Linked DNA regions of Homo sapiens: all the other regions are linked to region 2. The links are contacts of gene promoters, found by promoter capture Hi-C in blood cells and fetal thymus (Javierre and others, 2016). All regions are on one chromosome and are shown on one strand. The core of a region is centred on a gene start or on the middle of the fragment in contact, and the rest is flanking DNA. Distances in the headings are between cores, read along the strand shown. Region 1 overlaps PPP1R1C (protein phosphatase 1 regulatory inhibitor subunit 1C). Region 2 holds the start of ITGA4 (integrin subunit alpha 4). Region 3 has its middle 150 kb from the start of PPP1R1C. Region 4 has its middle 150 kb from the start of SCHLAP1.

Region 1 (3,410 bases), core at 899-3,398, 620 kb after region 2:
GATTTAGATAATGAGTTGTAGAGGTTGTCATAGATTATTACAAATAAATTCACGTCTCTGATAGCTCTCTATTGCTACTTACATAGCAGATGTGTTTATTTTAGTATATTAGGTTTTGACAAGACAGTAAACAATGGTTTTATAATCTAATAGCTAGATAAGGAAAAATGGTTTGAGCCTAATGTCTTACGTATTCTGAACAACAGTTTGCCTTCAGGTAATGCTGCGCTGTGTCTTGTTCCCTATACACAGGTTAGGTCATTCTTTATTATCAGGTAATAAAAAATAATAGAGGAAGTATAAGCAGTGGCTAAGTGCAAAAATCTGAAGCCTGAGAATCTCAGTTTGAATTCTAGTTCCATTTAACTGTCTGACCTTGAGAGAGTGGGTTGGATGCCTCATCTGTGCTTCATTTTCTTTGCTTCTAAAATGGAGGTAATAAAAGTGTGCACTTTGTATCAGTTTTCAAGGACTGCCTTAATAGATTCCCACAAACTTGGTACTTAACACAAAAGAAATGTTTCCTCTCACAGTTGGTGAAGCTAGATGTCTAAAAACCAAGGTATCAGTAGGGCCATGCTCCCACTGAAGGCTGTAGGGAAGATTCCTTCCTTGCCTCTTCCAGTTTCTGGTGGCCCCAGGTGTTCTTCAGCAAGTCCTCAGGTGTTTCTGGGAGTGGAACTCGTTTCTGTCTCACTCTTCCCGTGGCCTGCTCTTCTGTGTCTCTGTGTGTTGTTTCCTCTTCTTGTAAGTACATCAGTTATTGGATTTAGAATATTGGCTACTTCATCCTGTCGAGCCTCATTTTAATTACATCTGCAAAGGCCTTATTTTCAAATAAGGTCACATTCTGATGTTCCAAGTGGACATGAATTTTTGGAGGACACTATTCAACCCAATACATACCTCACTGGTTTTGAGGATTAAATAGGTTGCTATACATAAAGCACTAGAACAATGCCTGTTGCAGAAGTTTTAGTTAAGGTGACTTCTAAAATGCCATGCATAGTTCAAGCCATTTCCAGTTTCACCTAAGTTACAGATTTCCCATTGCATATCTTCTCGACAGCACATCCCCCAATAGTCTGCTCTATCTTAAACTTAAGCCATCTAAAACTGCCTTTATGTTCATCCCCAAACGAAAACCAGGGGATCCTCCAATTCCTGTAAATGGTATCACTATCCCCCATTTGCTCAGATTCAAAGCCTCAACATCATTTATAACGACTTCGTCTTCTTTGTTGCCATAACTAATCAACCTTTTGGTCCTGTAGAGTGGATCTTGAGAGAAGTTCACTTGTTATATTCTCATTTCTCCTTTTCCAGGTCAGGCTTTCTTTAACATTCACCCAGATAAAAAGCAGAGTAATACCGTAACACAATACATCACGTAATACACATTCACACATATTTCAGATAGAAACAGAACTATATTTCCTCTAATTCAGACTATATGTCTATTTAATGACAATGAGAAATATGAAATATCCAGTAAGTTGGCCTTATTTAGTGGCCCTGCATACAAGCTGACTCATTGCAGAAAAGGAGAAGCTTTAAGGGGAAAAAAAAAGGAAAATATTAACTGCTTCTAACCCACAACATTTAAATAAAGCCATTTTAATATGCATTGATTATGTTCAGCCATTTTATAGCTCTGGCCTCAGTTTTCTTATTGGTAAAATATGACCTTGAGAAAGTTATTTAAATTCCCTAATCATAAAGGTACATACTCATAAGGTTTTCGTAAAAATGAAATGAAAAAACTGTATGTAAAATGCTTCAGCATAGTACTATGCCCCTCATCCATGGTCAAGAAATACTAGTCATTAGATATAATTTTAGCATCATATTGACATAAACTCTTTAAAACTCTTACACTTATTTGGTTGCTACTTCATTTGATGATTAACTTCATTTAAAGCATATTTCCAGGTTTGATTGCATTTTAACAAGAGAGTGAGGTTTGTGCTCAGTGTGTGCAGTTGTTGGGAAGAATTTGGTTTCTACATCTTTAGCTGCTATTGGGCAAATGGAGAGGTAAGTAGTATACTCTTTCTGAGCATAGTGCCAACTGGTGTCCATATTTATACAAAAGGGGGTTAAAGGGAACGAGAAAAAGCACACAGTAAGCATTCAACAAATAGCGGCTATCAGTATTGTATAATTTTTTTTCAAGTTTCAGTTTCCGGGTGAATACAAATGAGTGCCTTAACCTCTTTTCAGTCTTCTTTCAAAGAGAAGATTCAATACATTGCAGTTGCAGTAGTTATAGAAAGTAGCTAAACAGAGAAGAGTAGAAAATTGTGATAGAAAATTTGAAATCCTTATATTTCTTTTGCTAGATTAATCAACATATATTCAGCACCTATTGAGTGTTGATTCTGAAAAGCATTGATCAGATAAAAGTGATCATTTAGTAAAGCAAATGAGAGAAACTTAATTCTAAAATACAGCTATCAGAGTTAACTTACAAATGAACTTCGATAACTTCTGGATGCATTTTGTAAAAAAAAAGTATTGTGTCATATTAAAATATGTCATAATAAAAACTCCTGCACTTAGCAGGAATTACATTAACTATGTCTAATGTGTGCGGTTGAAAAGCCACTTCAACCACTCATCACGTACACCTCATATCCTGCCTGCATAAAAGGCTGTGCCCATTTCACTATGGATATAGATTTGTTTATCCTGCATATTACCAATTCCGTATGTCCACATAAAAAGTCATAAATATCAGGGAGAAAAGCTTCATGTGCAGAAACTTTGTAGTTAATGGGAAAGCAAATACCAAGTTCTGACTACATACCTCCCTATGCCTATTTTTTTTAAAAAAAGGTCTTTTTTATTCCTGAAGCTTAAAGAAATAAACAAAAGCTATTACTTTGACAAAGCAGACACCAACATAATGAGATTTGAGCAGGATTCTGTATTTCCCTTTATCTACCACTCTGTTTTCCATAAGGGGACACAAAGACATTTTTTACACTTAATCTTGTGAGCTAGTTAGGAATTCTCACTTCACCCATGCAAAGAATAGAAACAAACTCATAAAGCAACAGATGAATGCATGCATGTGAAATTGGAAGTCATTTGCATTTAAAGTGATAGAACTTAGGTAAACAGAGGGGATGCATTTAGGATAATATTTTCTTTCAGGACTCAAAGTTCTCAAAAGAAAATATCTCACCTGGTTTTCAAGCAGGTTTCAAATTATGTTTGACAAACATGGGACATCGTCTCTAAAGCATGTGTGCACGTGTCTGGCATAAAATCAAGGGTGGAAAGTTACCCTGAAGGTCAAACGGACAAGGTTTTCTGAGTTTCTGCTTGGCCTGGTAAGACAGCCTTGGTCATGGAGGAGGCCTGATTCTGAAGACTGGGTCAATTCTGTCACTTGCATTTGTTTA
Region 2 (3,562 bases), core at 1,033-3,532:
TTACCAACCACTCCACTGACTGCTTGTCACCAAAACTACGCTATGAAACGAATTGTGTTGAGTGGCTTTCATTGTAAAAGATTTTGGTGAAGGGAGGGAAAGAAACTGGTAGGGGTTCAGATCAGAAGATCTGGCTTTGCCAGTTTCTGGAGGGTGTCAGAATGGCTTCAACATACCTACTTCCTTGGCCTCAACTGGAGGTTTTGTAGCTGTAAACAAGAAGGATTGCATAGTTCAGAATAACGACACTGTAAGCTCATTGTGGAACTGGGTTAAAATCAGCATGTAGATCTACTAAGAAAGAAACACACTCAGCACTACTACAGAAAGAAACAGCCATGGGCCCTGATTGTTAGCTTTCTGGAAGCCATTTCATTTTTACAATAGATTTATCACACACTGTATTGACTTTTTCCAGTATAGAGTAAGAGAAAGTTAATATTCCTCATGTTTTGTCTGTTGACAGACTGAAAATAATTGCATTGAGTTTGGCTAGAATATCCTGTCATTCCATAAACATCTCAAACTCCACATGGCTAAAACTTAACCCATCCATGCCCCCATCTGCATGCACACATACATGCATATAACTTCATTTCTCAGTGTTTTTTTCTCCATGAATGGTAGCACCATTCTCTTTCAAGAAAGAGAAATACTTCCCCTTGGGATTATCCTATCTCTACTTATTGCTGCAGGGGCTTCCAAAATTAGGTTTTCTGTGTTCAGTCTTGCATTCACACTTCTGAAACCCAGAGCTGACCGAGACAAATTCTTCAACTTCCTGTCAGTCCCAACATAGATTTAAAATTCCTAACCTGGCTCATGAGGTTCACCATGTATTCCTGCTTCCCTAAGTCAGCCTCATATCACACCAACCTGTGTGTGGAGTGGCTAAATACTCTAGCCAGGCAAGCTCTCTCAGTTCTTCTACCTGGCTCCTCTGGAGCCCTCCTTATTGCTCATCCCATTCTTAGCCTGATTCAAGATTCCTGGTCCTTCAAATCTCTCTTTAAGTGTCCTTACCTGGATCTTTCTCTAGTTAGTACAAATTTTTCTATCTACCATTGGAGCGAACATTTTTTGAAACTTTGTATCAGTCCTGCCTTACTCTTGGTGGAATCCTGTGGTCCTAGTCAAGTGCCTGCTCCATGAATGTGCTGAATAAATGAATAAGCATTTTAATTGTGTATCTGTCATTAGTGTCAGATGTGTTATTTATTCCAGCATGGTTTTAGCACACAGACACACTCTTTGATGCAGACTTTTCTTTTCTTTTTACATATAGCAACAATAAAAAACTAGACTTTCATCTCCTGAAAATATCAGTCTAATAATCACCTATGGCTGTCTCTCTGGTTGCTGAAGGAAAAAAAAAAAAAAGGCAGGGCACACCTGGATTGCATTAGAATGAGACTCACTACCCAGTTCAGGTGTGTTGCGTTGTGGGTCTCCGGCACATTTCAGAGGCTCATTAGGACCCTGACCCCACACTGGGGTTTACACCCCTAAAAGCAGGTGTGTCCCGTGGCAACTGAGTGGGTGCGTGAAAAGGGGGGATCATCAATTACCAGCTGGAGCAATCCGAATCGGTTAAAGTGAATCAAGTCACAGTGCTTCCTTAACCCAACCTCTCTGTTGGGGTCAGCCACAGCCTAAACCGCCTGCCGTTCAGCCTGAGAGGCTGCTGCTAGCCTGCTCACGCATGCAGCCCGGGCTGCAGAGGAAGTGTGGGGAGGAAGGAAGTGGGTATAGAAGGGTGCTGAGATGTGGGTCTTGAAGAGAATAGCCATAACGTCTTTGTCACTAAAATGTTCCCCAGGGGCCTTCGGCGAGTCTTTTTGTTTGGTTTTTTGTTTTTAATCTGTGGCTCTTGATAATTTATCTAGTGGTTGCCTACACCTGAAAAACAAGACACAGTGTTTAACTATCAACGAAAGAACTGGACGGCTCCCCGCCGCAGTCCCACTCCCCGAGTTTGTGGCTGGCATTTGGGCCACGCCGGGCTGGGCGGTCACAGCGAGGGGCGCGCAGTTTGGGGTCACACAGCTCCGCTTCTAGGCCCCAACCACCGTTAAAAGGGGAAGCCCGTGCCCCATCAGGTCCGCTCTTGCTGAGCCCAGAGCCATCCCGCGCTCTGCGGGCTGGGAGGCCCGGGCCAGGACGCGAGTCCTGCGCAGCCGAGGTTCCCCAGCGCCCCCTGCAGCCGCGCGTAGGCAGAGACGGAGCCCGGCCCTGCGCCTCCGCACCACGCCCGGGACCCCACCCAGCGGCCCGTACCCGGAGAAGCAGCGCGAGCACCCGAAGCTCCCGGCTGGCGGCAGAAACCGGGAGTGGGGCCGGGCGAGTGCGCGGCATCCCAGGCCGGCCCGAACGCTCCGCCCGCGGTGGGCCGACTTCCCCTCCTCTTCCCTCTCTCCTTCCTTTAGCCCGCTGGCGCCGGACACGCTGCGCCTCATCTCTTGGGGCGTTCTTCCCCGTTGGCCAACCGTCGCATCCCGTGCAACTTTGGGGTAGTGGCCGTTTAGTGTTGAATGTTCCCCACCGAGAGCGCATGGCTTGGGAAGCGAGGCGCGAACCCGGCCCCCGAAGGGCCGCCGTCCGGGAGACGGTGATGCTGTTGCTGTGCCTGGGGGTCCCGACCGGCCGCCCCTACAACGTGGACACTGAGAGCGCGCTGCTTTACCAGGGCCCCCACAACACGCTGTTCGGCTACTCGGTCGTGCTGCACAGCCACGGGGCGAACCGATGGTGAGTAGAGTTGGACTGATGCGCCCTCAGCAGCTCAGAGCGGCGTGAGAATGGCGCCCTAGGGATTCCCTGCCCGATTCAAACTTTCCTCCCTCCCAAGGAGGCAGGAGGGAAACGCTGCGAGAGCCAGCTCGCTGGAAATCTGCCAGGGAAACTAACTTATCTTGGGGCGGCAGCGCCCCGGGTGCGTTATGGTGCAAGGTCTTGGAGCTTCGAGTCGGGGGTGGTGGGCGGAGGAGGAGGTGGGGAAGCTGCCCTGCTGCGGACTGCACATCTGTGGCGACAGGGAGCTCAGTGGGCAGCACAGCTCACGTCTGAGCGCACGTGCACGTGTCTCGCTTTAGGCTCCTAGTGGGTGCGCCCACTGCCAACTGGCTCGCCAACGCTTCAGTGATCAATCCCGGGGCGATTTACAGATGCAGGATCGGAAAGAATCCCGGCCAGACGTGCGAACAGCTCCAGCTGGGTGAGTTGGGTATGGGACCAGGAGTTAGTGACCTCCCGACCCCCCATGTGGACCCCACCATAGGGCAAGTCCTGGAAAGATTCACGTTGCCTGTTACTTCTGGTTTAAAGAGCATAAAGTTTTCAGTTTCAACTCCATCTCATCTTGCCTCCTTAATATAAAAGGGATTCCCTTTCTGTTAATATCGTTCTCCCTTTTCCTTATGGCAATGATTGCAGTACTCTGACAACTATGCTAGAGAAATTTCTTATGATACCTTCTCTTCATCTCTCCCCGTCTCTCCGTGTGTAAAGCACATTTTAGACTCTCTCAGCGTATTAAGGACAGGATCCAGCTAAGCCAAGACTT
Region 3 (3,485 bases), core at 64-2,563, 670 kb after region 2:
GAGTTTAGGTACATTTTAAGTGATTCATTTTTAGTTTTTCTAATTCTGGAATCTGAGCCTTCTCTTACAACAGGGAGTCTTTCAAAAACATTTTTTTGTTTCTTTTTCAAATTCCACTGTGTTTATTTATTGCCTTGTTTCTTTTTCAAATTCCATTGGTCTTGATTTAATTTAGTTCCACAGATTTTACTGATAGTCTACTACCTGCCAACTACTGAATTATGCAGCAGACTTATAAAAATAAAAAGGCTATTTTATTGTTATTGCCATCCTGCTAGTAAAGATTTATTCAATTATTTATAATTAATTAAGTGGCTTCACCTATATTTCTGTTAATAATCACATTAATTATGTATGACAGGTAGGATTTATGTTATAGATAAGAAAACTAGAGTCCAAAGAAAATAAGTGTCCCCAAATGAACCAATAATCCAACAAACGCTTCCACTAACTAGCTTCTGACCTGTTTGAGTTGTGATAGATTTTAGAATAAAAAAGCCTATCCTCCTTAGGAGCCATAGACTTTTATTCTTTCTTATACTGTCTTATATATTGACTTAGAGCTAAACTTCCTCCAATTCAGACATAAAGCATAGGCAGATACTTTTGCTAATGAGGCTAAGCTGGGAAGAAAACCCTGAGTTCTACTTTAATTCTTGGGCATTGACTTCAAACTAAGATGACTTATAAGAAATAAAAGAAGTAAATTTGAAACTTTAATAAAAAAAGTACATGGTTCATTTAAAAATGTTTCCTATGTCTAAATCTATATTTTAAAAATAACCTTTATCATGTAAAATGAGAGAATTGCTGAGTTTATGACAATCTTAGGTATAACCTTTTCTTAAAGAACAAGGCATCAATCTTTAATTTGTTTCCCTTTCTTGATTTCTCATAAGTTGCAAAATAAAAATAAAAATAATTTCACAAATTGTTCATTATTATTATCCTCCCTACTTGCCCCAGGATTTAAGTACTAACTTTTACTTCCTACTCTTAGACTTTGTATTGCCAAAGAAATAAAATATGAAAAAGCATAATCACCCAGACCTACCTGCGGAATTGTGGATTATGCTGTAGATATTAGATCATTGAAAGGAACAATATACTACTTAATGAGGAGCCAAAGACAACATTCTACCTGCTGCTCCCTTCAAGCTGAGGAATGAGTTTAATTGACTTCAAAGTCCCATTATTCTCAAAAGTAGCAAAGGTACAACATGGCTTTGCATGAATCAAAGGAAGGGAACAACAAGAACTTAAAAAAATAGTTTGCAGATGGTTGAACATCTCTTTAATAATTAGAGAAGAATATCTTTTCTTTCTTTATTGTTTACAGATACCAACATTTTTCAAAGCCTTGCAGTAGATGAGTGAGTCTCCTGTTACATTTCTCCTGCAGCATATATTCTGTGGATGTGTTTTCCTAAGCAGACTAATTATATGTTGCTCTCTTCTTTTACCCTAATGAAACATAGATTTTTCTGTTTTGAATTTGTCACTTGTTTGTTACATTTGTCAAGTGTTTTAAATATTACATTGGTCCTTTATTTGCTTTTGAGAACACCCAATAGTTTAAAAATTAAAATGACATGAAGGTCAATTCTAAGACAGGAATGATACTACTAAATCCTGGACTTGCCTATGATAACAAGCTCGAGCTACACACTTTTATTGTCAGAATAAATGGAATATATAGGAAGGAGTTAATTGGAACTGGTTAGTACCTAAATAAGATTTTTCAAAGTAAGTTTTTTGTCGTATTGGCAGAACAGTGTTAAAAAATAGACATTGTCATCATAAACACCCACAACTATATCTGTAGAAGATAATTTAATGCAATATTCTGGGGAAAATACAGTTGCCAAAATTAATCTCCTTGTTTTCTTTCATTGTGCAATGTGGAGTTAAATTTTTTTTCTATTGAGCAGTGTGTGTGTGTGTTTGTGTCTATAATTTATATATGTGCTTGTATACATTTCTATATACACATGTATGTGTATGCAAAATATGTATATATACACATATATATAAAATGTACACTAAATATGTATATATGTATATTCATAAAATGTTTTGCTGTATGGAAATAAAAAAGAAGGTTTCTAAAGGAAAGATAGAGAAGAAATTTAACCTGATTTCTATTAAATTAAGCACAGAGAAATAAAACTTTACTAAAGGGCCAGGTGCAGTGGCTCAAGCCTGTAATCCCAGCACTTTGTGAGGCCAAGGCTGGCAGATCACTTGAGGTCAGGTGTTTGAGAATAGCCTGGCCACATGGTGAAACCCTGTCTCTACTAAAAACACAAAAATTAGCCGGGCATGGTGGCATGTGCCTTTAGTCCCAGCTACTCAGGAGGCTGAGGCAGGAGAATTATTAGTCCCCAGGGTGGCTAGCAGGGCCTAGGGAAGCTGGAGATCCTGGGGTGACTGTCCCTGGCAGAGCTGGAGGTTGCAGTCACTGTCCCTGGAGTTGGAGGTTGCAGTGAGCCGATATCGCGCCACTGCACTCCAGCCTGGGTGACAGAGCGAGACTCCATCTCAAAACAAAACAAAACAAAAACAGAAAAACACTTTACTAAACAAATACCTCCCAAAGTTATAATTTCCATATTCTTGTCTGTTAGGGAGAAGCCAGGTGAGAACAGAGGAGGACATCCAGAGTAAACTGGACACAGTAACAGAGGTGAGGAGGTCCTCACAAAGGGTGCCTCCGGTGAAAAGAGAAAGATAGCCAGAGGGAGAGGACCCGAGGGAGGGCAAGGCCAGCTCCTTCCCTCTCCCTCTCTGGCCACACAACTTATTCTTAGCAGCTTCCTGTCCACTGCTGCTAAGTCATTTCCACATGAACGCGTCTTTTGCACCATGGCTATTTTCCTTTTGCCCCCATTTCTGTCTGAGGAAAGGTTTGATGGTGATTTCAGTGTTGACACACTCGACTTTTAGACTGCAGCTGACTTACCATGCTTGTTGAATGAGTCTGTTCCTCTCACATGGACAGTTTCCACTTATGAAAAGTCCCTTCCTTTTTCATTTCCTCTGCAGAAAGCTTGTTTTGCTAATGAGGAGTCCATGAAATTGGGGGAGTTTGCTGCTGTGTGTGTGTGTGTGTGTGTGTTTGTGTGTGTGTGTGTATGTGTATGTGTACATAGTTTTCCTCTTTGAGAAATTGCTATTGTTGCTTCTCAGTGCACCTGGATGTCTGAAGATATTTTTTATTTAACGAGCTGTCTAGGAAATACAAAGGTTACTGTTATTTTATCTTTATGTTGATATTTTTCTGTTTAATATTTGCATTAAAATTGTTCCCCCAAATAGAATATCTACATGATATAGCAACCAGTGAACAAATCAACATATCTACCTACACATATATATATAAATCTATATATTAATCTCTCTCTGTATCTAATTAATATATATGTATAATTTAGCCTTCCTCTCAAGCAAGGACATAAGTGGTAAATTAATGATAATATAATCTT
Region 4 (3,439 bases), core at 386-2,885, 920 kb before region 2:
ATATATATATATATATAAATTTAAGAAAACACAGTTGGAAAAAAATTTCCCCAAGATATTGAAGAATATTTTATATTCAATGCTTCATAAAGAAAAGAGAACAAAATCAATACTGCAGAAAACCAGAGGAAAAAGAAAAACAAATGAAATAGCACAAATAGTTTTTAAAAAGGTAGACAAAGAAATAAGAGCAAAGAGTGAGAAGATGCCAGTTATGAAAATAATAATGGAGGTTCAGAAGCATAATTGGTATGCTTCATGAAGAAAATAGGACAAAAAAAGAAATAAAAATATTCAAACATATAATAGAACAGAAATTTTGTGAAATTTTAAAAAGAAGCATGGGTTTTCAGATATAAAGGGCAAACTGTATCCCGAAGATAATTTCTGTTGAAGCCCACATCCAAAGAACATAGGGGAATACCTATTGATCATGCAAGACCCAGTCTCTGAAATAGATGTGTAAGGGAGGGCACCACCTTGACACAGTCTCCAATGTAAAATGTTAAGAAAAGATACTTAGAGGATTTTGTAGGCTAGGGTACATCCTAAGATTATTTTAGGGCATAAGATCGTAAGCAAGATCTGAATAGGGAGTGAACAAAATTCATGAACTAGGCCGGACTAGTTGCTGGACTGTCAGCTGTCCAATCTCCAGAACACGTTGAGTGTGGCATTATTACTGCCAGTTCAGTTTGAGGTCTTCTCTTGCAGCCTGTGAGTCTGAGTGAGATTATAATAAAACCACTGAAGCTTAGTTTGTGTTGCATATCAACATTTGGTTCATTGAATCTGTCTTGAACATCACAGTGTTTTCCATTTCATTTATCTTTATAAAGGAAAAAGATCCACATTAGGATACAAACTAATGACTTTTTCTTATTCAAATATTTTATTAAGGAAAGGAGCTTGAATGCATCTGTAAAGAAGAAATATGTCACCTACAAAGTGGGAAAAGGTACAATAATCTTGGAATATTAGATGCCAATATAAGTGGAGCAGTGTGTAATTATTTGGAAAGAGAATAAAAGTATAATTCAATAACTTCTATGCCCAGTCAAGTTATCATTCATGAGATTAAGTTCGCGAGCCAAGACAACAAAAAGACATTTTAAATATACAACCATTTATGAATTATACAACTCAAGCATGCTTCCTAAAAGTGGTTGTGTCTTATATTCCAAACAATTGAAAAATAAACAAAAATAAAGAACTCGTATAGGGAAGTTATGAAATGATAGGAGAAGAAACACCTGTTTTGCAAGACAGAGACAGAGAGAAACAGAGAACTCCTAATGTTCTTTGTTGAGGCCAGAAAGGACTAACAGGAGCTACTTAAGCAATTAACATTCACTTATTGAAAGACAACTAGAACCTGTTCTAGGAACACAGGATGAAAAAAAATAATCTTCCTGAAAAGTTCATTTAGTCCCCTAAAGTCATAGTATCTGATTATGAAATTATAACATTCAATTCATGAAACATCTCCCCGGTGGCAAATGACTGTTTTTACATCTTGTAGTAAACAGACAAAAGCAATGAAATTTGATGTCCTCAGACACCCTGCTGGCTTTACGCTTATGTAAAGTCCGCATTTGTGTTCTCTGGCAGCTGTATTTCTTGCTTGAAAGACATGGCTCCTGTCGGCTTGACTTAGTTTCTTCCATCTCTCCTTGAAGTGTGAGTGGTACAAACCAGTGAAAAAGGGGACATACTAGAAAGTTCTCAAGTGTGAAATTGAACCCTTAGCCAAACACTAAAAATACTCTTTGTGGCTCAGCAAAAGTTCCATTATCTTTTGTTTATTTCTGGGTGCCACAGTTCTTCTTGATTATATCTAGCCCCAGCTGTGGAAGTAATAGAAATGTCTTGTGAATCAATTAGTACATGGGGAAGCTGTTGAACTATAAAAAAAAGTTATAAGCACCTGAGCTTGAGAATGTTTATCTCATATGTACCTTAAATTATAGAAATTCAACCATCCTTATTGCAGATAGCTTGATTCCTAAGAACTTTTAAAAGTTAGGCATCAGAACAAATGAACTGAGACTCTGTTATTATTTTGTTCTTCGCAAAACTAATTTTCCATGGAATGGCATAAGAAAAGCAGTTGAAAGGGGCTCTTTTTTATTTAGAAAAACCTTGTTGGTGCATTTGTGCAATCAGTTTTTAATCCATTCCATCCAGTACTATTTCTCTCTTTGTAATCGCTGATCTTTAATATTGAAAACTATGATCATTATTTTTAATATGGTCTTTCTAAGGTGGAATAAATTATACAGGCAAATCATCTGAGAAAGTACCTAGCACAGCTCTTGACACATGGTTTATTGGTTTATTTTTAAAAATTTTGTTCAACTTAACATATTTTTGAGCAATATTGTGTCTCACATAGCTACTGTTCCTCTTTACTATAGATTGCTCAACACCAACAACTTACAACCTCAATAAAAATAGAGTACTTCACATATCAAAAAAAGGAAGTTCCACTTTAGGGCAACTTACAGTTGGACAATGAAAGCTTAACTCTTTTTCAAGCAGTCATAATTTTTGTAAGCATTGATGTATAATAGAAATGTTAATATATATAAAAAATGAAACCTCAGCTGGTAGAAATGAAGAATATAAATTAGTTATGATTGATAATGTTCATCTGCTTTTTCTGAGATATGATCCATTCTCCCATATGCCATATGACCCTATTATAGGATACCAGGTATACACACATACACACACACACACACACAACTATGTAAACGATATAAACAACTGTTTGCTCAGGGTGATATACAATACCCAGCACACTGTTGGCCTTCATAAATATTAACCAATAATAATTCACATGTCGCCTCACTTAAAAAGTAAATACTACCTCATTTTAAAAGATCTTAGTTTTCATCTGTGTTTGGGACCATATCCTGAATGTGTAGTGCTATATTTTAATGATTTACTTTATGGTGTCAGTTTAATAAATGAGTTAATTGTCTAGACTTCCAGTGTCACATCAGAGCAGTGGTGAAAAAGCAAGCTTTCCTATTCAGCAGTCAGTGTAACAAGGGAAATTATACAGGTAGGAATACCAGGAGAGCAGCATGTTACACTGCTCCAGAAAATAAGTTTGCTGCTTCTTATTTTTCTCCTGATGTTGACCCCTACTCTTGGAAAATGTGTAAAGTGTAGATAGACCTGACCTCCTTCCTTCCCTCGCTCCATGGTATCCAGCTTGAAAAAACAAAAATTAAAAATGTGATCTCATTCTAATCAAAGAGATTATCGTGCTACATTTCAAATGGCTTTACATCAGCCTTCAGTAGCCATAGGCTGCTCAGGCATTTATCACAGGTGTTTCGAACTGTTTTTTTTTTTTCCTTTTATTGTAAGAACACATTCATACTGGTGACACATCCCCATGTGCAATTCTTGGTGTGTTAGTTTACCT

The links. The method cuts DNA at HindIII sites, captures the fragments that hold promoters and counts their contacts. A CHiCAGO score of 5 or more calls a contact.
Region 1: a fragment that was not itself captured here is called in contact with the fragment with the promoter of ITGA4 in region 2 in 1 of 17 cell types (fetal thymus); the score reaches 5.4 in fetal thymus.
Region 3: a fragment that was not itself captured here is called in contact with the fragment with the promoter of ITGA4 in region 2 in 1 of 17 cell types (megakaryocytes); the score reaches 5.1 in megakaryocytes.
Region 4: a fragment that was not itself captured here is called in contact with the fragment with the promoter of ITGA4 in region 2 in 4 of 17 cell types (M2 macrophages, M1 macrophages, monocytes and 1 more); the score reaches 8.8 in M2 macrophages.

Annotation. Positions count from the first base shown.
Region 1 is chr2:182,079,164-182,082,573 of GRCh38, forward strand. All of the region lies in intron 4 of PPP1R1C (protein phosphatase 1 regulatory inhibitor subunit 1C), which reads left to right. Among named protein-coding and RNA genes, the nearest start is that of PPP1R1C, 95 kb to the left of the region's middle. The HindIII fragment of the contact is 1,198 bases long and covers 1,550-2,747 here.
Region 2 is chr2:181,455,104-181,458,665 of GRCh38, forward strand. ITGA4 (integrin subunit alpha 4) reads left to right here and starts at 2,283. Exons shown (of 28, transcript NM_000885.6): 1 at 2,283-2,748; 2 at 3,093-3,214. The coding sequence starts at 2,552. RefSeq lists enhancers at 1,790-1,899, 2,620-2,809, 2,870-2,919, 3,280-3,329 and a silencer at 2,080-2,469. The HindIII fragment of the contact is 9,740 bases long and covers 1-3,562 here.
Region 3 is chr2:182,129,271-182,132,755 of GRCh38, forward strand. It overlaps a transcript of PPP1R1C not described here. Among named protein-coding and RNA genes, the nearest start is that of PPP1R1C, 150 kb to the left of the region's middle. The HindIII fragment of the contact is 3,467 bases long and covers 1-3,047 here.
Region 4 is chr2:180,537,318-180,540,756 of GRCh38, forward strand. No RefSeq gene overlaps it. Among named protein-coding and RNA genes, the nearest start is that of SCHLAP1, 150 kb to the right of the region's middle. The HindIII fragment of the contact is 1,768 bases long and covers 752-2,519 here.